Linked DNA regions of Homo sapiens: regions 1, 3 and 4 are each linked to region 2. The links are contacts of gene promoters, found by promoter capture Hi-C in human tissues and cell types (Jung and others, 2019). All regions are on one chromosome and are shown on one strand. Each heading gives the region's core, a stretch centred on a gene start or on the middle of the fragment in contact. The rest is flanking DNA. Distances are from core to core; before and after follow the strand shown.

Region 1 (5,696 bases), core at 2,009-4,508, 850 kb after region 2:
AAATTAGCCAGGCGTGGTGGCACATGCCTGTAATCCCAGCTACTTGGGAGGCTGAGGCAGGAGAATCGCTTGAACCTGGGAGGTGGAGATTGCAGTGAGCCAAGATCCCACCATTGCACTCCAGCCTGGGCAACAAGAGTGGAACTTGTTTTCTCAAAAACGAAAAAAAAAAAAAAAGCCTCAAGTTCTAACCGCCCCCTTTGAGTTACTATTACTGAGCACTCCTGTGTGTACATGTCTTGCATGCATAAACTCTAAATAATCTGTTTTGTCAGTTTAATTCACAAGCCCCCAGAAACAGAACCCAAAAGGCTGGAGGAAGATTCTTCCCAGCCTACACTGCTTTACCTTTACTTTTCTACCATCTATTCTCCACACAGCAACCAGAAACCACCTCGTTAAAACACAGGCCCAGATCACATCACTCCTTTTTTCAAACTCTGTAATAGATTCCCATATAACTTAAGAGTAAAAGCCGGGCAAGACGCGGTGGCTCACACCTGTAATCCAAGCACTCTGGGAGGCCGGCGGATCACGAGGTCAGGAGATTGAGACCATCCTGGCGTGAGCCACCATGCCTGGCCTTCAACTCACCAGGATTTTCTAATGTGATAGAAGATAAAAGAAAAATTGTACAGTAAACGATTATTTCATAAAACTTTGTCTCTATATGGGTGCATCAGATCACAGATCAACTATGTACAATCTTTCTTTAGGTCAAGGTCAGAATAATTAGAAAACCACTGCTCTCAAGAAAGCCCTTAAAAATGGAACACTCTTTTGATTTAGGACCAACAACCTTAAAATACATTCTGTTCCTAAGAAATAGTGGAATGAAGCCAGGCATGGTGTCACACACCTGTACTGGGAAGGCTGAGGTGGGAGGATCACTTGAATCCAGGAGTTCAAGGCTGCAGTGAGCTATGACTGAGCCACTGCACTCCAGCCTGGGTGACAGAGCAAAACTCTGTCCCCCTCCAAAAAAAAAAAAGAAAAATAGTAGAAAGAGCTGAAACAGAATCCTTGGTGTAATACTGTCAAATATATGTATGTTTGGTTCCCATTTCCTGGCATACAATTTCTAAAATCCTTGGAATAACCAGCGTCTTTTTGTATGCTAATGAGATGACTGGTGACTGGCAGCCCCTAGGTGGCTTCATGATGGGTGAGGGTCATAGTAGGAGGTTGGGACTTTTCAGTCTCACCCCTGACCCTCCAAGGAGGGGCTGAAGGTTAGGTCAGTAACCAAAAGCCAATGATTTAATGAATGCTGACTACATAATGAAGCCTGCATAAAAGCTCAGAAGGACAAAGTTCAGAAGAACTTTTGGCTGGGCATGGTGGCTCACACCCCAGGAGTTCGAGACCAGCCTGGCCAACATGGCGAAATCCCGTCTTTATTGAAAATACAAAAATTAGCTGGGCGTGGTGGCATACACTATAATCCCAGCTACTCCGGGAGGCTGAAACATGAGAATCCCTTGGAGGTTGAAGAGAGCCGAGATGGCGCCACTGCCCCAGACAGAGCATGGAAGCTCCAGACCCGTTCCCTCTACACCTTGTCTTACATATCACTTCATCTGTATCTTTAAAAATATATTAATAGTAGCCATAAAAAAAGAAGAAAATCATGTCCTTTGCAGCAACAAAGATGCAGCTGGAGGCCACTATCCCAAGTGAATTAATACAGAAACAGAAAACCAAATACAGCATATTCTCGCTTACAAGTGGGAGCTAAACACTGGGAACACAGACACGAAGATGGCAACAATAAACACTGGAGAGTCCAAGAGTGGGGAAGGACGGTGGGGGGATAGGGGTTGAAAAACTACCTGTTGGATACTGTGTTCACTGTTTGGGCAACGGAATCATTAGAAACCCAAACCTCACGATAAGGCAATATACCCATGTAACAAAACTGCATATGTACCCTCTGAATCTAAAATTAAAAATACATAAATACACAAAATAAAATACTTTTATAATAAACCAGTAAACATGTTTCCTTGAGTTTTGTGACCAAATTAATCAAAGCCAAGGAGGGAGGTCACGGGAACTTTGATTTATAGGTGGCCGGTCAGAAGCACAGGTAAAACAACCTGAGGCTTGCCATTGGCACAGAAAGTGGGCACAGTCTTGTGAGACTGAGCCCTCCACTTGTGTGATTTGATGCTATCTCCAAGTAGAGAGCTTCGGAATTGACTTGTAGGGCACCAAGTTGGCATCCCCTGCAGAGCTGACTGTTTGCCTGATGTTTGGGGGAAAATCCCCACACACCACACATCAGGTGTCAAAAGTGTGTTGTGAGTACAGCAGGAGAAACTGAGTGTGCTTTTTCTACACACTTGGTCAATTAAATCAGCTGGAGAATGAGGAATCAAGGAATCACGCTCCTCTGAAGTGGGTAAATGAGGGAACTCAGCATATTCTTTTATAGGCCCTATAATTTTCTCTTTAAAATGTTTACAGTTTACAAGGTGATTAAACCTTCACTTCACTGTCACAATCGTTCTCGAAGAGAGGAATGCTGGGGTGATTATCCTCGGATAAATGACTTACAGCAGTCCCAAAATATTCAGGCCCTGGTTTCCAATTTTGAATAACAATCCACAAGGGCTTCTTTCCCTTGCACCTGAACTGCAGACAAGCCTCCGCTAAAACCCCAGCTTTGCCACACACTCTGTAGTTTTGGCAAATCCCGTGCTAGGGGATAAAAATATTACTTGAGCCACCTAGAACTAAATGATGGCACCTTAAGAGGTGCTTCGGGAGGAACCGGAGCCCCTCGCTGGGAGCTGTCATTCCTTGGTCCCTCTCCAGCTCCAGAGGAACCTAGTCAGGAAGCCTCGCAGGGCGGAGCCATCCGAATTGTAAACAATGGCGGCCTAGCCTCTTCCGTTCCCCGAGGAACCCGGAGGGCGAGCCGCCTAAGCTGGACCTGAGGGTATCGCGGATTTGCGTCTGGGGCCCCGGAGACCCTCTGTAGCCCAGGGCCTGCTGACATCCCGAGAGCCTCTGGAGCCAAGGCCCGTGCAGCTCTGGTCTCGAGGCCTTTCCCCGCAAACCGCAGGTCCGGCGAGGACTCGGGACCCCGAACTCACCCAGCTGGCGAGGGAGAAGACACCCAGCACAGCCCCCATGGTGACGCCAGTGATGGAGGTGGCCGGTCCTGAGGCTGCTTTCTAACACGGTGGTAACTGCCAGCTGAGGTGACTCCCCAGAAACATGACGGTTTCTCAGGCCGGAAACGCAGCCTTCCACAGACGCACGGATGCGTCACGGCGTGGCCCCGCCCACCGTCCGCGACCGGAGCGGCAGAGGGGGGCGCCTGTCATTGGCTGAGGGGGAAGGTGGGGCTAAACCATCCTGGGGTTGCAGGAACTGTGAAGGTGTCATTCCTTACATCATTTGTATTCATTGTGCAAAGATCTGGAAGTTACAGAAGTGTACAGAGAGGCACAGTACGCTCAGAATTTATTCTCTAGTTAATAGGAGATCTGACAACATAAATGCACCGTGCCCCAATGTAATGAATACGATGAAGTAGTATGGGGGAATAGGCTTTCAATAAAGGTGTATTTAGTGCCTCCTATTGTAAGGGGAAAGTAATTTAGCTGGGCAGTAGTCTTGGAAGGCTTCTCTGAAGGATTTATTTTTTAATCTGCGAACTAAAGGATGAGTCCAAATTAACCTAGAAACGATGGAAATCGTATCCTAAAATGTGGGATGCACCCCATTTGGGAAAAATGAATGGCTCTAAGGGTGCATGAAGGACATTAAGCGATATTAAACAGCAGAGTGAGAACGTCCCATTTCAAACCAACAGGCTAGTTGTTTGAGGCCAGTATGGTATTTAACATTTTTCTAGTATTTATCTCCCTTTCTAACAGAGTAAAGCCTTCATTTTCCAGATCTCTCAAACAGGCAACCATGCCTGCAGTTTTAAAATATTGTTTTGTTTTGAGGTGTGTGTTAGCAATAACCTTTTCATTTCTTCCGAGCAATGCTGATTTCCCATTTAAGCAGTGATGTAAATATTCCTTTCAAAATACATGTCAAATTTGAGAGTTCACTTAAAGAAGAAAATGAAAACATTTTTTACTTACACATATAATAGTTTAGGTGGAATGTGGCAAACAATGATGATGTCCGGACAACAAGGTGTCACACTTCAATATCTTCTCCTGTGGTGTGTTAATCTTCCCTGATAGATAAAACTCTCTGGAAGGGGATTCATAATTGAATTCCTTCTGGATTGTCAGCCTTTAGTCTGATAAGGGAAATTCATGAAAAGCCCCTCTCTCCATGTGCTGTTCCCCAAGCAATCATCATACCAGTGTGGCATATTTGGGGATGTTATTTCCTGGATTCCTTGAAAATGTATTCCAAATTCATCTTTTACAGAAATGGAATGAGGCTCAAAGTTTGCCCAAGGCCATGAAAAGGGCTGATGAAAGAAGAAAGAGAACTACTCACATTTAATAATTCCTACCTCTCTTTTCCCAGATCCCTCTCCTCACCACACATACACAAATACCAGCTCAAGTCAAGTTGCTTCAGGACCACTGAACTTTCCAGGTAGTCCTTAACATTCTTGCTTCTTCCTGTCTGAGTATTGCTGGTCTGGACTTAAGAGAGCTGACTGTGATAAATTTTACAGATCGAATTCTACCAGAAACATACCTGTAGTCAAAAAGAATTAGGTTTATTTAGCTTGTTCAGAAAGGGAGAACACATATCAGAGAAAATATAAGGTGTCTTGGTAAGAGGTGACTGGGGAGAACTTATTTTAGGATTTGGGTTTATGCTGGGTAACTAAATCTAAGGAGAGTTTAAGGAGGAGGAGAACAGTTTTGGATTGGACACAGTCAAGGAGTAGAGGCAATTCAGTGATTAGGTATCTTACAAATTTTTATCCAGAAGGAAGAAGGATTAAAACAAGGCTAGATTAGTCCTTGGAAAAGTGTGATACCCTACCTTGTCTTAACCTGAATTGACTCTCTCTTAGCTGAGGGAGACAGACAAACTCCATTTTGGCTCCTTCACTTGCCGCTCCTTACCCATCCCACTTCCTCAAGGATTTAACTTGTGCAAGCTGACTCCCAGCACATCAAAGAATGCAATTAACTGATAAGATACTGTGGCAAGCGATAGCTGCAGTTTCCAGGAATTCACCCGGTTGATAGTACCCTAAGCCCCTGCATTTTTGTCCGGTTGATGGTACCCAAAGCCCCCACATCTATCACCTTGTGATGGATTTAAAGCCCCTGCACCTGGAACTATTTGTTTTCCTGTAACCATTTGTCTTTTTAACTTTTTTGCCTGTTTTACTTCTGTAAGATTGCCTCAGCTAGGCTCCCCCTCCCCTTTCTAAACCAAAGTATAAAAGAAAATCTAGCCCCTTCTTCGGGGCCGAGAGAATTTTAAGCACTAGCCATCTCTCAGTTGCCGGCTAATAAAGGACTCCTGAATTCGTCTCAGAGTGTGGCGTTTCTCTATAATTCGCTCGGTTACAAAAAAAGAAGCAAAATCCACTCATTTATTAGTCAGAATTGGAAGATGTTGAGTCCTATCTGCGGTACCAGAGTGGCTTTGTCTGTATCTTGATCCAACTACATGGTGGTCTTGTCTGATCTTTGTTTATATTCTGTGATCACTGTTTTTGTTCAGTTAGAAACATTAGGTCTAGCTGTCAG
Region 2 (5,592 bases), core at 3,093-5,592:
CAGCCTGAATCTCTTTTGATGACCCATATTTTATGAGATACAATTCAAACTCTAGCATTCCCAGCTTTCTCACTTGAGGTCCAAGCCTTTCTAACTCTCCAGCCCAAATGTTAGCTTTGTAACATTGCATCCACTCAATTTAAATGGAATGTGTAGAACCCCTTCCATGAGTACCTACCAGAAGCCAAGCTATAGTAAAGGTCTGAAGCTTAAAATGTGCACAGGCTGTCCTTTCTCTTGAGAGAGAAATAAAATGGTGGAGGAAGTGTGATGAGGACAAGAATGATAAGGAGGATGCTCTGGAGGTGGAGGGGGAAGACTCCAGCCAGAAGGGCCATGTGATTCTACTTATCATCAATTAGTGTTTGGTGTCCAAGCTGGTGCTGAGCCCTGAGCATTTAATAAATTGATTTGACCCTTATCTTCCCAACACAGGGTCAGGCCTGGGGGTTGGGGCAAATTGTGGAATAACCAAATACCTGGAGCCTCCCTGTCCAAGGAGGGCGTGTTCAGGAAAAGTTTCCCAGCAGAGATAAATTCTGTATGTTACTAGTCCAGAGTCCAGGGACCACTCCCAGGTGTGGTTTCACTCGGGACACTGGGAATCCTCTCTCCAGGGGATATCTGTTGGTATGATGATAACTGGAGAGGAAATGTGTGGAGATCATCAGATTCCATCTGGCACTAGGGTGATCTCCCTGCTGCCTGACTCACAGCACTGACTCCAGGCTTCTTTGGCTCTGGGGCATTGGTTAACTGGCCCCAGTTCCAGGTTGCAAGTGCACTCTGCAGCTGTTCCCTGCCTCTTGCTTTGGGCAGATACCTTGCCCAAGCTGTCAGGTCCTGCCTCTCCCTGAAATGGGATGACTAATGTGTGGACCTCAAAGGATAAGAGTGAGGGCAGCTGAAGAATTACAGTAGTAATAATAGCTAACAGTAATATAGTTCTTTTTTTGCTGGGCGCGGTGGCTCACGCCTGTAATCCTAGCACTTTGGGAGGCCGAGGTGGGTGGATTGCCTGAGATCAGGAGTTTGAGACCAGCCTGGGGAACATGGTGAAACCCCGATCTCTATTAAAATACAAAAAATTAGCCAGGCGTGGCGGAGTGCTTCTGTAACCCCAGCTACTCGGGAGGCTGGGGTTATTGAGACGGAGTCTTGCTCTGTTGCCAAGGCTGGAGTGCAGTGGCACGATCTCAGCTCACTGCAACCTCCGCCTCCAGGTTCAAGTGATTCTCCTGCCTCAGCCTCCTGAGTAGCTGGAGTTACAGGTGCATGCCGCCACGCCCGGCTAATATTTTATATTTTTAGTAGAGATGGGGTTTCACCATGTTGGCCAAGCTGGTCTCAAACTCCTGACCTTAGGTGACTCACTCGCCTCAGCTTCCCAAACTGCTGGGATTACAGGCATGAGCCACTGTGCCCGGCCAATATAGCTCTCATTATGTGCCAGGAACTGTTTTTGGTGCTTTACACATATTAATTTATTTAATCCTATAATTACCTACAAAGTATAGTGATTAAGAGCATAGACTCTAGAACTAGACAGGCCAGGTTTGAATCCCTGCTCTGCCATTTACTAGCACTGTGACCTTGGGGAAGTCTGTGCCTCAGTTTTCCCATCTGCTAAAAGAGGATAATCCCAGTATCTACCTCATAGAGTTGTTACAAGGATTAAATGAGTTACAATTTATAAACAGAATGCTGGCTGGAAATATTAGCTGGGCATGGCGGCGTGCTCCTGTAACCCCAGTTACTTGGGAGGCTGATAGTTTAAAAACTATCTAAAATTTTGATAAATCCCATTTTTCCAGGTGAGAAAACTGAGGCACAGAAGAGTTAGGTAATTGGCTGGGCATGATGGCTCATGCCTGTAATCCCAGCACTTTGGGAGTCTGAGTCGGGTAGATCACCTGAGGTCAGAAGTTCAAGACCAGCCTGGCCAACATGATGAAAACCCATCTCTACAAAAATACAAAAAATAGCCAGGCATGCTGGCGCATTCCTGTAGTCCTAGCTACTCGAGAGGCTGAGGTGGGAGAATCATTTGAATCCGGGAAGTGGGGGTTGCAGTGAGCCAAGATCACACCACTGCACTCCAGTCTGGGCAATAAAGCAAGACTTGGTCTAAAAAAAAAAAAAAAGTTAAGTAATTTGCCTAAGATACCGCAACTGAATGGTGGAGCTGGGACTCAAACCCCAGGAAGTTTGGCTGTGGAGGCTGTGCTTTCAATGAAGTGGGCATGTCCACATTAATTACTTTATAAGGGGAGTGGGCGGGAGAAACCCTGAATTAAGTGATGTGGAAGCTTCTAGCACTTAAGATGTGAGTTAGTCTTCCTTCTGTGGTAAGTGAAGTTTGCAGCAGCTGGTGGCTGGACTGTCCCCAGGTGGCCAGCAGCTTCTGGAAGGGGGCTCTGAGGCCTGAACAGGGGCTAAAAGGCTGGGGTTTGATTTGGTTTCTTCAGCGTCCTGTCTCAGAGCTCATTTATCTTCCTCTCAGCACTGCTCCCAGGAAGTCCAGTGTGACTTGATCCTTGGTACTTGGTAAATGTCAATCTAATATAGAAAACCTTTGCTAAATCTCAAGGAAAGACAGTCTCACTGTCTGTCGCCCAGGCTGGAGTGCAGTGGCGGGATGACAAGGGCTTGAGCCCCTCGAACTCCTGGGCTCAAGCAATCCTCCTGCCTCTGCTTCCCAAGTAGCTGGGATTACAGGCATTCACCACCACAGCCAGGTAATTTCTTAATTTTTTGTAAAGACAGGGTCTCACTCTGATCCCCAGGCTGGTCTCAAACTTTTGGACTGAATCAGTTCTCCCACCTCGGCCTCCCAAACTGCTAGGATTACTGGCATGAGCCACTAAATCTGGGCTAATCTCTGGGAGTTTAAACCCAAGGTAAACAATTCAATGCAACAAACCTTTGCCTGGGGCTTCTTATGTCAGGTCTTCTACTGGGCCCTGGAGATACTGGTGTGCATTGAGAGGCCACCTGGACCTCAGGATGCTCCCAGTTCAAAGGGGGAAATGCAGAAGTCTACAGGCAGATTGTGGGCAGTGGACCCCAAATTAAATAGGAATCAGCCACGTGGGAGGGGCAGGAAGTGTTCCTGCCCTGGGTAATGGCTCAGGCAAAGGCAAAGAGGCCGTTTCTTTTGGCCAGGGCTGGGTGGTGGTCTGGAAGATCAGATAAATGTGATTGTGGAGTAAGGAATTTACCCTGAGGGAGAGGAGGATGGTTTTAAATTCTGGAAAGAGCTCACGCCTGCAATCCCAGCACTTTGGGAGGACAAAGCGGCAGGATCTCTTGAGCCCAGGAGTTTCTAGACCAGTCTAGGCAACAGCAACATAGCAAGACACCCCCTTCTCTTAAAAAAAAAAAAAAAAGCGCAGTGGCTCACTCCTGTAATTCCAGCACTTTGGGAGGCCGAGGCGGGCGGATCACGAGGTCAGGAGACCTATACCATCCTGGCCAACATGGTGAAACCTCGTCTCTACTAAAATACTAAAAAAAAAAAAAAAAAAAAAAAAAAATTGCCGGGCGTGGTGGTGTGCGCCTGTAGTTCCAGCTACTTGGGAGGCTGAGGCGGGGGAGTCGCTTGAACCCGGGAGGTGGAGGTTGCAGTGAGTCAAGATCGCGCCACTGCACTCCAGCCTGGCGACAAAGCGAGACACCGTCTCAAAAAAAAAAAAAAAAAAAATCAGCCGGGTGTAGTGGCGAGTGCCTGGTCTTAGCTACCCGTGAGTTGAGGTAGGAGGATCGCTTGAGCCTAGGAGGTGGAGGTTGCAGTGAGCTATGATCGCGAAACTGCACTCCAGCCTGGGCGACAGAGCAAGACCCTGCCTCTAAGAAAAATGAACAACAAAAAATAAAGTCTATTAAGGAGGGTCTCTTGGAGGCAGGAGAGGAAGCAGGGAGAGGCACAGGTAGGGTGAGGAGCCGCTTTAGGGTGCGGCTCTAGGGACCCAGTAGTGGCTTGGACTAGCGTGGGGGATTCCGCCCTGGCGCTTTCCCTGGCTGGCTCTCCCATGCTCGCGCCTCGCTCCCCTTCCTCGGTCTTCGCTATGTGGGATACTCCTGGGCCGCCCCGGACTGACACGTGAGCCAGGCCTCGGTCACATCCCGGCCCGCTCCACAACTCCGAAGTAGCGGCCGCCGCCCCTGTCCTGCAGCCGGCCCTGGAGGGTCTGGGCAGGTGCCGCCCCGCAGGCCCCGCCCCGCCCCGCCCCCTGGCTCCGCCCCTCACTCAGGCCCCTCCCCCGGCGCCCGCGCGCCAGGACTGGGCGGCGCCGACGCGCTTGGCGGGAGATAGAAAAGTGCTTCAACCCGCGCCGGCGGCGACTGCAGTTCCTGCGAGCGAGGAGCGCGGGACCTGCTGACACGCTGACGCCTTCGAGCGCGGCCCGGGGCCCGGAGCGGCCGGAGCAGCCCGGGTCCTGACCCCGGCCCGGCTCCCGCTCCGGGCTCTGCCGGCGGGCGGGCGAGCGCGGCGCGGTCCGGGCCGGGGGGATGTCTCGGCGGACGCGCTGGTGAGACGAGCCGGGAGGGCTTGGGCCCCTCCCCCTCCCTTTAACTCACCCCTCCCCCACCCAGATACCCCCGACCCTCCCCAGGCTCCCACCAAGCTGGGGTGTGTGTGTGTGTTGGGGGTGGGGTGTTTCCGCGGAAATGCTGCGTCCTGGGCCCTCTGAGGCAGGGGCGCGCGTAAAGCTGGGGGGCTCTTGGGCGTCCCTCGCGGCTCCCCAGGCCTGTTGGGCCTCGGAGCTGGGACGGGCGGGTCTCTTGGGACCCGGGCCAAGCCGTGCATGATGTCATTTTGTCTCCCGCCTAATTGCGGGATGGGGGTGGGCCGGCCGGTGTCAGCTGGCAGGGCCTTCGCCGGCGAGGGAGGCGACCCCTGGGAGCGAGAGGGAGTCTTCAAGTCCCAGCCAGTGGGAGACCGAGCCTGGGAGGCACTTGTTGCAGCCTAGTTTTGGGTCAACTTGGTGGGTGGGCTTTGCTCCTTAACATTCCGGGGAGCACAGAGTCCCCCAAGCCCTCTCCCCTGGACTGAGAAGGGTGCTGAGTTGGGGGCTCTTTTGTCTCTCCCACCTGGGTTCCGCGCCCCAGCTTGGTTCGGTTTGAGACCTCTCTTCCTGTTCCCACGAGGAGTTTTGGGCAGCTGGGGTTGAAGGTGCGGGGGAGAGAGAGAGTCCCTGGGGCAAAGGCAGGAACTGCGGTCTCCATTTTACTTATTTCCCCAGAGACTTAAGTGGCAGAGCTGAGCCCGGAGCCAGGTCTGTGGCTCCAGATCCCTGTCTTACACCTGTGCGCCTGGGGCCTGAGCTCCAAGCTTTTCAGCCTGCCTGGGAGACAGGACAGTGGGGTCCTGACCTCTTCCCTGCCTGGATCGCTGCAGCTCAGATAACCTTCGTTCCCTCTTTTTTTTTTTTTTTTTTTTTTTTGAGAAGGAGTCTCGCTCTGATGCCCAGGCTGGAGTGCAGTGGCGCGATCTTGGCTCACTGCAACCTCCGCCTCCCAGGTTCAAGCGATTCTCCTGCCTCAGCTTCCCGAGTAGCTGGGACTTCAGGCACGTGTCACCACGTCGGG
Region 3 (5,860 bases), core at 2,600-5,099, 670 kb after region 2:
TGCAACTGGGACCAGCTTTCTTCAATGGGGGCAGCAGAGAGGGTCTGACTGGGATGTGGCTGTGTGTTTGCTACGAGAGTGAATTTCTGTGTTTCTGTGGATGCATGAGTGTGTGGAGTAGGCGATGGTGGTCTTGTCTGTGTGGCTGGACTGTGGGGTCTTCCTCGTTGTCTGTCTCTCAACACTGTGGAGAGGCAGTATGGGGGTGCCTGTCCCACCTCTCCCACCCACAGGATGTGTGACCCGGGGCAAATGACTCACCTCTTTGTGCCTTAGTTTCTTCATGTATATAAAAATGTGGATGATGATAATAATAGGGTTATTCTGAAGATTAAATGAGATTGCCCATGTAATGTGCTTAAAACAGTGCTGGCCACTTATGAGAAAGTAGCTAATACCATCAGCTTATATGTAGTAGACATGCTTAAGTGTGTAACCTGTGGGTTTCTGTATATTTATACAGGACACCTGTGGTGTACAATGGAGAGGATATGAGGGCCTGGCGGGGACGAGCTCTCTGTGATTTGTGGGAGGGGATGTGCTTATATGAGTGTGTGCACAAACGTGTGTGTGTGTGTGCACATACATGTGTTGTGTGTACAGCAGATGCCTGCGCCTTCTGCACATGTGCAAGGACGTTCACTGCCAGGACCCAGGTTACCACACAAACAGTCTCCATCCCTAGGACAAGTCACTGAGGCTCACGTGTGCCTCGGTTCCTTCATCTATACAATGGGTGGAGTCACTACCCCAAAGGGAGCTGTGAGGCCCAAGTGAATTGAGGATGTGAAGTTCTGAGCCAGTGCAAAGTGCCAGTTACATAGGAGTGGCTTGTGCTATGCGTTCTGAGAGAGCCGGGCTTACTTGTTGACACTCCTGGGTTCCTAAGTGCCATGGCTGTTTGTGTCTGCCTTCCCTGGGCTGCAGAATTTGCCCTGGTGTATCGAAGATCCCACCTGTTGTTGTCCGAAGAGCCAGAATTGGGAACCTATCAAAGAGAAACTGGGAACAGCCTTCTTCAGTGGGGGCAGCAATTTCAGTTCAGTTTCTTCAGTGGGGCATCCAAGGCCCAAAGAAGGATAAGAACTTGCCTTAAGACACCCAGCACACTGGAGGCAGAGACGGGGCTAGATCGAACGAGTCTCTCTTGTCCTTCTGGCATAGTGGGAGAGCCCCCATAGGGGTCAGGGGTCGCAGCCCTCACCCCTCACTGCTCTGCCCTCCCCACCTTCCCCAGCATCCAGCAGGAAGGTCACTGCTCCAGCAGGAAGGTGTGTGCTTTGGCAGCCGCACTGTCTGGGCTGCCTGTGGTGGGAATTCCACATGTCTGGAGAGGACCCGTCTGGAGTAGCCCAGTCCCAGCCCCCAGCCCTGCTTCGCCAGCTGGCCCAGGGTTTGGCCTGCTGCCCCGAGACTAGGTTCAGCCTGGGAATCCTCAGAGCTTGCTAGAAGAGTAGTCTGAGGATTGCAAATTCTTCACCTGTGTTTTTTATATAACACCTTTCTGTTGTAAGTCTATCCCCTTCTATTACAAAAGTAATGCATTTTATTTTTGGGGAATACAAGTAATGAAAGAGGAGAAAATTGAACTCTTTCTTAACCTAGGACTTCAGCAACTCAGAGACTGAGACTTTAAACACACACACACACACACACACACACGCACACACGTCCATTATCTACATACTCATACATTCACCTGGGGACACATTTGACTCAAGAACACTCAAACACACACACATGTAAGTATACTTGCACACACATACACAAGTGCATACATACTCTCACAAGTACACACGTACACACAAACACATTCACACACACATTCCTAGAGTGCACACAGTGTGCCAGCCACTGTACTAAGGCTCCACAAATGTTCACTCATTTCATCTTCGCAGTAATGCTACAAGGTAGGCACCGCTATTTCTCCCATTTTACAGATGAGGCACACAATGGTTGAGTAACGTGCCCAACACCTAGTTAGTGAGGGGGTGGGATAAGGGAAATTTGAACCCAGATTTGTGGGCTTAATTCATTTGCTAATGAATAGGCTGTGTTTGAGTGGCATCATAACGAACATCACCCTAGGCTTTTTTCCTTATGCATCTATATTTGGTTTGGTTAGAAAATGGCATCTTTGGCTGATACAAAAAAATTAGCCAAGTATGGTGGTGCGTGCCCGTGGCCCCAGCTATTCAGGAGGCTGAGATGGGAGGATCACCTGAGCCTGGGAGGTGGAGGTTGCAGTGAGCCGAGATTGTGCCACTGCACTCCAGCCTGGACGACAGAGCGAGACTCTGTCTCAAAAGAAAAAAAAAGAAAGACAGCCTGTCCAATATGGTGAAACCCCATCCCTACTAAAAAATACAAAAATTAGCCAGGTGTGGTGGTGTGCACCTGTAGCCCCAGCTACTTAGGAGGCTGAGGCAGGAGAATCGAGGTTGCAGTGAGCCGAGATTGCGCCACTGCACTCCAGCCTGGGCGACAAAGTGAGACAAAAAACAGAAAGAAAAAAAAAAGGAAAGGAAAAGGAAAAGGCATCCTTTTAGATACTAACCAGGCCTGGGGTCAGATCTGGACTTAAATCCTGGCGTGATTGCAGACTGGCTGGCTTGACTTTGGGCTTGTTCTTTCTCCTCTCTGGGGCTCAGTTTCCTCATCTATGAAATGGGGAGCTATAGTACCTGCTTCTGAAGGTTGGCTGGGCTTTTGTGTAAAGCACTCAGCCCTGGGCCTGGCACATAGCAGGGGCTCACTAGATGGGCCATATTAACTGTCTGCTCCAAGGCTGGAGGGTGTTATAGGGAAAACAGTCAGAAAATACTCTCCAGATGCAAGGTGGCCTTAATATGTCAGGATGTGGAAGGCAGAGAGAAGCCTCGGGGTCTGGGATCTCCCATAGGGGATGAGTATTTTTTCCTGGAATCCCTGCCCTGTTGCCACATCACTACCCTGACCATTTGCCCAGCCCAGCCCTACATGCTTCAGGTGAAAGCAGAGAGAGAGGGGCGGGAGAGAAAAGCCCATCAAGCAGCAGGCGGAGCCTCCCTGCAGGAGTCTGGCCTGGCTGGAAGGGGAGGGGGCTGTGGGGCCAGGGACGTCAGATGCCAACAGCACCAGGGGACCGTTAAAGTTGCTGCGCCGCCAGGTGGGCCAGGGTGTCTGCAGAGGTCCCCGGCCTCCTGGGCTGCCGCCTGCCACCGCTTGGGCTGCCCGTCCTGGGTACGCACCGTTGGAGCCTCCTGCCTGGTCTCTCGTGCTTCTCTGTCTCTTCTCTAAGTCGATTTTTCGCTCTTTCTTCTGTTTGTGCCCCTCTCTCTGTCTATTTCTGTCCTCCCCCAGCCACATTGTTGCCTCTCTCTCATTCTCTCTTATCTCTTTACCTTTCTATTTCTCATTCTTTTTTCTCTGTAACTCTTTTTTTCTGTCCCCTTTTTGGTCTCTCTTTTTTCTCTGCCTCTTTCATTCTCTGCCATTGGGTTTTCTCTGTGTCTCATTCTCAATTCCTAAATTGCAGCAAAGCAGGGACAAAAGGACCTTGCAATATGACTTGGGGTAAGGTGGGCCCTGCCCTCCGAGGGCATTGACTGAGCCCGCTCCAGCAGGATTGGTGAAGAGGATGTCTAGACTGGAGAGGGCTGCTGTCTGTCTCCTGGGCTGGAGGGACAGAGCACTGGCTTTGAAGTGGTGGCACCATCTCACCCCAGGGCCATGTCTGGATTAGCCACTGTCTGGGCATTTCTTCCCCTTGCCCAACCCACTCAGTCCCCTGGGGTGGAAAGGAAGGGGTGCTGGGCATCTGGACCAGAGCTGCATCTGGAGGTCTTTGCCAAGTTCCCAGGAGGCAGCATCCTCTGGGTCGGCACTGTTGGAGAACGCTCAGGGTCTGGTGCTCTCGTGCCTGCCCCTTCCAGGCAGCCGGCTCTGATTGCACAAGGCAGACCTGTGACTCCTCCATCCAGCTATGCCCCTGCTGCCCAGCACCGTGGGCCTGGCAGGCCTGCTCTTCTGGGCTGGCCAGGCAGTGAACGCCTTGATAATGCCTAATGCTACCCCAGCCCCGGCCCAGCCCGAGAGCACGGCTATGCGGCTCCTGAGTGGCCTGGAGGTGCCCAGGTACCGCCGGAAGCGCCACATCTCTGTGAGAGACATGAATGCCTTACTGGATTATCACAACCACATCCGGGCCAGTGTGTACCCACCTGCCGCCAACATGGAATACATGGTGAGTCCCCGTACCTGCCCCCCACCCCCCGCAGTGTCCCTTCCGGCAAACGCAGCCGGACTCATCTTGGCCTAGAATGACTGGCTTTGAAGAGCTGGACCACTTGCCTGCCTGGCCCCACTAGCCAGTATCTGGGTGTCGACCTGTGGAAAGGGCAGGAGTTAATCTGCCCATTTTACAGATGAGGAAACCAAGAAGGTTGCACAGCTGTTCCAGTGAGTCAGGCATGTGACTACTATGTAAGGAGCACCACTGTGCGCCAGGCACTGCACGTGAGTATCATCTCCATTTTCCAGAGGAAGAAACTGAGACTCAGAGAATTAATTTGCCCAGCCAGGATTTCAATCCAGGTCTGCCTGCTGCCACCTGGCACCATCACAACTGTAACCATCACAATCCCCTACCCAAGAATTTTGGCTCCCCACACTGGGGACCTGCATGGGGTGCGTGGCTGGTGCTTTCTATGCTATTGTCTCTTTACCCTAAGGTCTTGACTGACACACCCACAGCATCCTCCACAAGCCCCTGGAGGCAGGCTTGGAGCAGTGGGGACAGGTACTGGGGAATCTCAGGCTGAGGAAAACCAACAGCTGACCAGCAGAGGAAGCTGGGATGTCTCCCCTCAAAGAGGCAGGGCTGGTGGCTCTCACTCCAGCCCCCAAGAAGTCAAAGGAGGGCACCAACCTTTTGCTTACAGCTCCTCCCCCAGGGCCACTGTCCAAAACCAGCCTAGAGGGATGGGTTTCCAGCCCACCCAGAGATGTCTTTAGGGAAAGAGTTTGCCAGTCTGCCCCCTGAAAGACCAACACATGCCACTCGATAGCCTGAAAACTTAACTTTTTCATCGTATCCATTGACTTATACTTGGAGTACACTTGCAGCCAGGCACCGTGCTAAGCCTTGTGGATACTGCTGGTAACAGAATAGACAAGGCCCCTTCCTTCACGAAGGTGACATTTTAGTGGGAATAAGAGAAAACAAGCATGAACAACAAGATATTAATGTACATAAGATAACGTGAGGAGGCAATACAGTGTTGGGAGGGGCGGGAATAAGAGCCGGGATGGCAGGCAGCTAGAGTGCAGGGGAGTCATTGACTTGTTCATTCATTCGTTAGCACCTAGAATGCCCTCCATTTTTCAAACAAATGGCACATTTATTGAGCACCCGTTGTGCGTGTGTGGCACCTGCCCCAACAGGTGTTTAATGATTGCAGGCGGCATGGAGCAGAGAGGGTTCAATATCTCACCAGGGACTCCAGGGAGGGCCTGAACATGTAGGTTTGATGTTTAGCCTGCTCCTTCCCTCACTTTACCCCTTTGTAGCATGAGGGAAGCACTCCTCTGCTCTCCCTAAAAGACTGAGCCAGAGAGCCGGGCGCAGTGGCTCACGCCAGTAATCCCAGCACTTTGGGAGGCCGAGGTGGGTGAATCACCTGAGGTCAGGAGTTCCAGACCAGCCTGGCCAACATGGTGAAACCCAGTCTGTACTAAAAATACAAAAATTAGCTGGGTGTGGTGATGAGCGCCTGTAATCCCAAGCTACTTGAGAGGTGGAGGCAGGAGAATCGCTTGAACCTGGGAGGCCGAGGTTGCAGTGAGCCGAGATCCAGCCAGCCTGGATGACAAGAGTGAA
Region 4 (4,951 bases), core at 1,619-4,118, 970 kb after region 2:
CACCTCAGCCTCCCAAAGTGCTGGGATTACAGGTATGTGCCACCGCAACCGACCCAGGCTCCATTTTCAAAAGCAGATGCTACTCAAGCATAGCCTATCAGGAATCAATATTAGGCAACGGAAGATCTTTCTAGTACTCTAGAGTTTAAGAGTAGGATCCTTGGAGGCAGCCCATCTGGCTTGACTCCCAGTTCTGCTGTGTGACCTCAGACAAGACACTTGACCTCTCTGAGCCTCAGTTTCCTCAACTGAAAAACAATGGAATATTATGCCCCCGTGTCCAAGAAAAATTGTAAGGATTAAAAAGGGCAGTGTAGGTGGACATGGATAGCCCAAAGGAAACAGCCCCTGCCGCTCAGTCAGGGTGTTTACCATGAGCTGTTAGGAGAAGCACAGCAGGCAGTGGGAGATGGTGGGGAAAGGGACTTTGCTGTTCCTGCTGTTCCTGTTCCAAATGATGGAAGCTTTCCCCCTAGCTAGGGGAGATCCAGAAAACTCTCAGCTGACATCTCATGCTGGGGTGGGGAGCATGGAGAGCTGGATAAGAAAGTTGGCTGCCCTGGCTCAGGGAGGAACAGCCAAGGAGCTGCTGGCCCAAGGGCGTCTAGGAGCACATACATGAGCTGCCTCCTGCAGAGGAAACCCAACCCAGGCCCAGGGGAGGCCAGCAGGGAACAGAGACACCAGAGGTCCTATCAGCAGGACCTCAGAGTCATCAGATCTCTCCTGAGGTCATCCAGCTGGCAGGGGACAGAGCGGTCTTCACACCCAGTCTCAGGGCCAACTTAGTTGTTGAATTCCCTGACAAAATGAGTTCAGTTCCCACCCAGCCAAACGTCTGTTTCTCGGGTTCTCAAAATATGCTCAGCATTGGGAATACTGAAGCTTATAGCCCAGGGAACGGCCAACCAGCTGTGTGACCTCAGGCAAGGGACCTCAACTCTCTGAGCCTCTGTTTTCTATCCTTAACCCTCACAGGGCTATGGAGAGGGCCCAGCCAGAGAGCCGGAGTCACACTGTATAGAGCATCATGCGGTTAGAGCTGGAATCTCGGCTCCTCCACTCACTCCCTGCTTGACCCTGAGAAAGTCACTTCACTTCCTGTGCCTCGGCATCCTCATCTGTTAAGTGGGGAGAATGGCAGTCCTTCCTTCTAGGCTTCATGAGGGTTAACTGCATTAGTAGGCAGGGAGTTCTTGGCACATAGCAAATGCTAAATAGTTGTCAACTAAAAGTCAATGAAGGCTGGGCATGGGGGCTCACGCCTGTAATCCAGCCACTTTGGGAGGCCGAGGTGGGTGGATCACCTGAGGCCAGGAGTTTGAGACCAGCCTGGCCAACATGGTGAAACCCCATCTCTACTAAAAATGCAAAAAATTAGCCAGGCGTGGTGGCGCACACCTGTAATCCCAGCTACTTGGGAGGCTGAGACAGGAGAATCACCTGAACCTGGGAGGCAGAGGCTGCAGTGAGCCGAGATTACGCCACTGCACTCCAGCCTGGGCGACAAGAGCGAAACTGCATCTCAAAAATAAAAAATAAGAATAAAATAAAAGTCAACGAAGGCCTGCGCTCCTGCTGGATGCTAGATTGTAGAGTTAAACAGGAGGGTCCAAGTCCTGTTCCTGGGGCTTGTACAGGCCCCAGAGTGGGAGAGGCATTAAGCAAATGTCACATGGGAAAATGTACAGTCACAAACCAAGACGACTCCTTGGGAAGTACGAACACAGTCCTATGACAGAGGGTAACAAACAAGAGAAGTGAATACATCTAGAGGGCCAACAATGAGCCTGAGCGAAAAGCTAGAGGATAGCGAGGAACCCACAACACAAGGCAGGGGTGCGGAGGGAGGCAGGAAGAAAATTCCAGGCAGAAGGAACAGCATGTGCAAGGCCCTATGGCAGGAGAAAACGGGGTATATGAAATGGATTAAATAGAGGTTCAGAGAAGGGAGGGTTCATGGTACTGGAGAGGCTGCAGGATAGGACCACCCAGGCAGGGCTGTGCGGGCCACGAGGAGTCAGGCTTTATCTGGAAAGCACACAGAGGCCATTGCAGGGTTGGCAGCTGGTTAGAGAAAGAGGATGGCTCCTCCAAGGCCAGTTAGAGGCTACTGCAGCCATTTGAAAGATGACGGTGGCTTGGACCAGGGTTGTGAGGTGCATAGAGGAAAAACAGGTGGATAGAAAGAGATGCCAAGGCTCACACTTCAGGTTAGGCCTGGGTGGGGAGCAATTCCCGCAGTTTGAGACAGAGAACTCTGGAAGAGAAGACCAAGTCCTGGAGCTCCCTCCAGGAGGGAGGATGCGGGGGAGGGAGGCATGATTGGTTTGGTTTTAGTTATGTTACACTAGAGACACCTTTTGTTTTTTGTTTTTTTAAGACGGAGTTTCACTCTGTTGCCCAGGCTGGAGTGCAGTGGCTCCAGCTCAGCTCACGGAAACCTCCACCTCCCGGGTTCAAGCGATTCTCCTGCCTCAGCCTCCCGAGTAGTTGGGACTACAGGCACCCACCACCATGCCCAGCTAATTTTTGTATTTTTAGTAGAGATGGGGTTTCACCATATTGGCCAGGCTGGTCTTGAACTCCTGACCTCAAGTGATCTGCCCACCTCGGCCTCCCAAAGTGCTGGGGTTACAGGTGTGAACCATCGTGCCCAGCCAACTGGAGATGCCTTTGAGATATCCAAAGGTAAGTGGAAGAACCCAGTGGGATACAAGAGTCTAGAGCTGGCCTGAGAAGCCCAAGCTGGGAATGTAGGTAGGAGTGTGGGTAAGCACAGAAGCTGTGGGCTTGAAGGAGCTCACCTAGGGAGAAAATATCAAGGGAGGTAAGGAAAAGGCCTAGGATGAAACTTTGACCAGCACAAGCACTTAATGGCCTTACGGAGGAGGCTGAGCCTACAGAACTGTGGCCAGAGAGGTGGGAGGGTGTGTGGTATGCAGAAGGCCAGGCCGTCAGATGTCAAGGAGAAGCGAGCAACGGTTCACAGGGTTAGCATAGTGGGCTGAATGGTGGCCCCCACAAAGCTGTCTACATGCTAATCCTAATCCCCAGAACCTGTAAATATTACCTTATATGGGTCGGGCGTGGTGGTTCATGCCTGTAATCCCAACACTTTGGGAGGCTGAGGTGGGTGGATCACTTGAGGTTAGGAGTTCAACACCAGCCTGGCCAACATGGTGAAATCCCCTCTCTATTAAAAATACAAAAATCAGCCAGGCATGGTGGCATGCACCTGTAGTCCCAGCTACTCAGGAGACTGAGGTAGGAGAATCATTTGAACCTGGGAGGCGGAGGTTGCAGTGAGCCGAGATTGAGCCACTAGCACTCCAGCCTGGGCAACAGAGCAATACTCCCTCTCAAAAAAAAAATATTAACTTATGGCGGGTGGATCACCTGAGGTCAGGAGTTCGAGACCAGCCTGGCCAACATGGTGAAACCCCATGTCTACTAAAAATACAAAAGTTAGCTGGGCATGGTGGCAGGTACCTATAATCCCAGCTACTCAGGAGGCTGAGGCAGGAGAATTGCTTGAACCTGGGGGCAGAGATTCCAGTGAGCCGAGATTAAATCACTTTACTCCAGCCTGGGTGAAAGTGCAAAACTCCACCTCAAAAAAAAAAAAAAAATTACCTTATATGGCAAAGTGTGATTATTAAATGTCTTGACAGGAAGAGTTTATCCTGGATTATCTGGTTGGGCCCTAGATGCAATCACATGTATCCTTATAAGACAGAAGCAGAGAGTTTTAAGAGAAACACACACAAGAGGAAGCAGCAACGTGACCTCAGAGGCAGAGACTGGAATGATGCAGCCACAAGCCAAGGAATGCCTAGAGCCACCAGCAACCAGAAGAGGCAAGGAATGGATTCCCCCGAGAGCCTTCAGTGGGCATGTGGCTCTGATGATATCTTGATGTTGGACTTCTGGCCCCCAGAACTGCCAGGGCACACGTTTCTGTTGGTTGAAGCCATGCAGGGTGTGGCAACTTGTCACGGCAGCCACAGAAAACTCACATGGTCAGGCCCTGCTGGAGGTCACAGGATGGAAGGGCAGAAACTTGTCCGTCGGGCTAAAAGCGCAGGCACTGGGGGCTTCAGAGGAGTAGTTCTTAACCCCGGCTGCAAGTTAGGAGCACGGGAAGTTCTGGCCAGTTCCCAAGGCCTCAACCCCATCTGAGGTCAATTAAAGAAAAATCCTTGGTGGCAGGCCCAGGTGGAGGACTTTTTTTAAAAAAACACGTAGTCAAGATTGGGAACCACTGCCGTAGAGGAACCGTTCTAGAGGCCTGAGTGAGGGTAGAATCCACATGGGAATAAGGTAAGAAAGAAGTGGAGGTAAGAAGAGGAAGAAGGTTTAGACTACTCTTTCACAATTTTGCCCCTAAAGGAACTAGCAGCCTTGGAGGGGGCAGGACGTGCATGTGGGTCAAGAGAATGGCAGGCTTTTTCAAAGGGGCATGTCTTGGGCAAGTTTAAACACCCATGGGGATGATTGAGGCTGAGTGAAAGGAGTTGCATGAGGTTACTGGGAAGGTAGGAGGAAGTCAGAAAGTCAGAAGGTCAAACCAGGCCTGGCCTTGGAGCCCCTGAGAACAGGAGGATCAGGCAGTGAATGGGGGCGGTAGTCACGTCCGCTTGTGGGTGGGACTGGTGGGGGGAGGTCTGCATGGCTACTTCTGGCTAAAGTATTTATTCATTTATTTATTTGTTGTTGTTGTTTTTTTTTTTTTGAGATGGAGTCTGGCTCTGTTGCCCAGGCTGGAGTGCAGTGGCAAGATCTCAGCTCATTGCAGCCTCTGCCTCCCAGGTTCAAGGGATTCTCGTGCCTCAGCCTCCCAAGTAGCTGGGATTACAGGCGCCCACCACCATGCCCGGCTAATTTTTGTACTTTTAGTAGAGACAGGGTTTCACCATGTTGGCCAGGCTGGTTTTGAACTCCTGACCTC

Evidence for each region. The method cuts DNA at HindIII sites, captures the fragments that hold promoters and counts their contacts. A contact is called where the count stands out against the background at its distance.
Region 1: the fragment with the promoter of SERINC3 here is called in contact with the fragment with the promoter of MYBL2 in region 2 in 1 of the 25 tissues and cell types used here (aorta).
Region 3: a contact is called between the fragment with the promoter of R3HDML here and the fragment with the promoter of MYBL2 in region 2, in 1 of the 25 tissues and cell types used here (pancreas).
Region 4: a fragment that was not itself captured here is called in contact with the fragment with the promoter of MYBL2 in region 2 in 1 of the 25 tissues and cell types used here (spleen).

What each region holds. Positions count from the first base shown.
Region 1 is chr20:44,518,812-44,524,507 of GRCh38, forward strand. It overlaps SERINC3 (serine incorporator 3), which reads right to left and starts at 3,259. Exons shown (of 10, transcript NM_006811.4): 1 at 3,102-3,259. The coding sequence starts at 3,140. RefSeq lists enhancers at 2,470-3,022, 2,941-3,250, 3,157-3,451, 5,484-5,696. The HindIII fragment of the contact is 6,058 bases long and covers 1-3,913 here.
Region 2 is chr20:43,662,772-43,668,363 of GRCh38, forward strand. MYBL2 (MYB proto-oncogene like 2) reads left to right here and starts at 4,343. Exons shown (of 14, transcript NM_002466.4): 1 at 4,343-4,532. The coding sequence starts at 4,513. RefSeq lists silencers at 4,138-4,432, 4,169-4,548 and enhancers at 4,138-4,432, 5,199-5,248. The HindIII fragment of the contact is 5,433 bases long and covers 1,259-5,592 here.
Region 3 is chr20:44,333,194-44,339,053 of GRCh38, forward strand. R3HDML (R3H domain containing like) reads left to right here and starts at 3,850. Exons shown (of 5, transcript NM_178491.4): 1 at 3,850-4,225. The coding sequence starts at 3,965. RefSeq lists enhancers at 766-1,277, 2,532-3,521. The HindIII fragment of the contact is 19,264 bases long and covers 1-5,860 here.
Region 4 is chr20:44,637,051-44,642,001 of GRCh38, forward strand. The region is part of intron 1 of ADA (adenosine deaminase); the gene reads right to left. Among named protein-coding and RNA genes, the nearest start is that of ADA, 12 kb to the right of the region's middle. RefSeq lists an enhancer at 1-4,951. The HindIII fragment of the contact is 5,650 bases long and covers 44-4,951 here.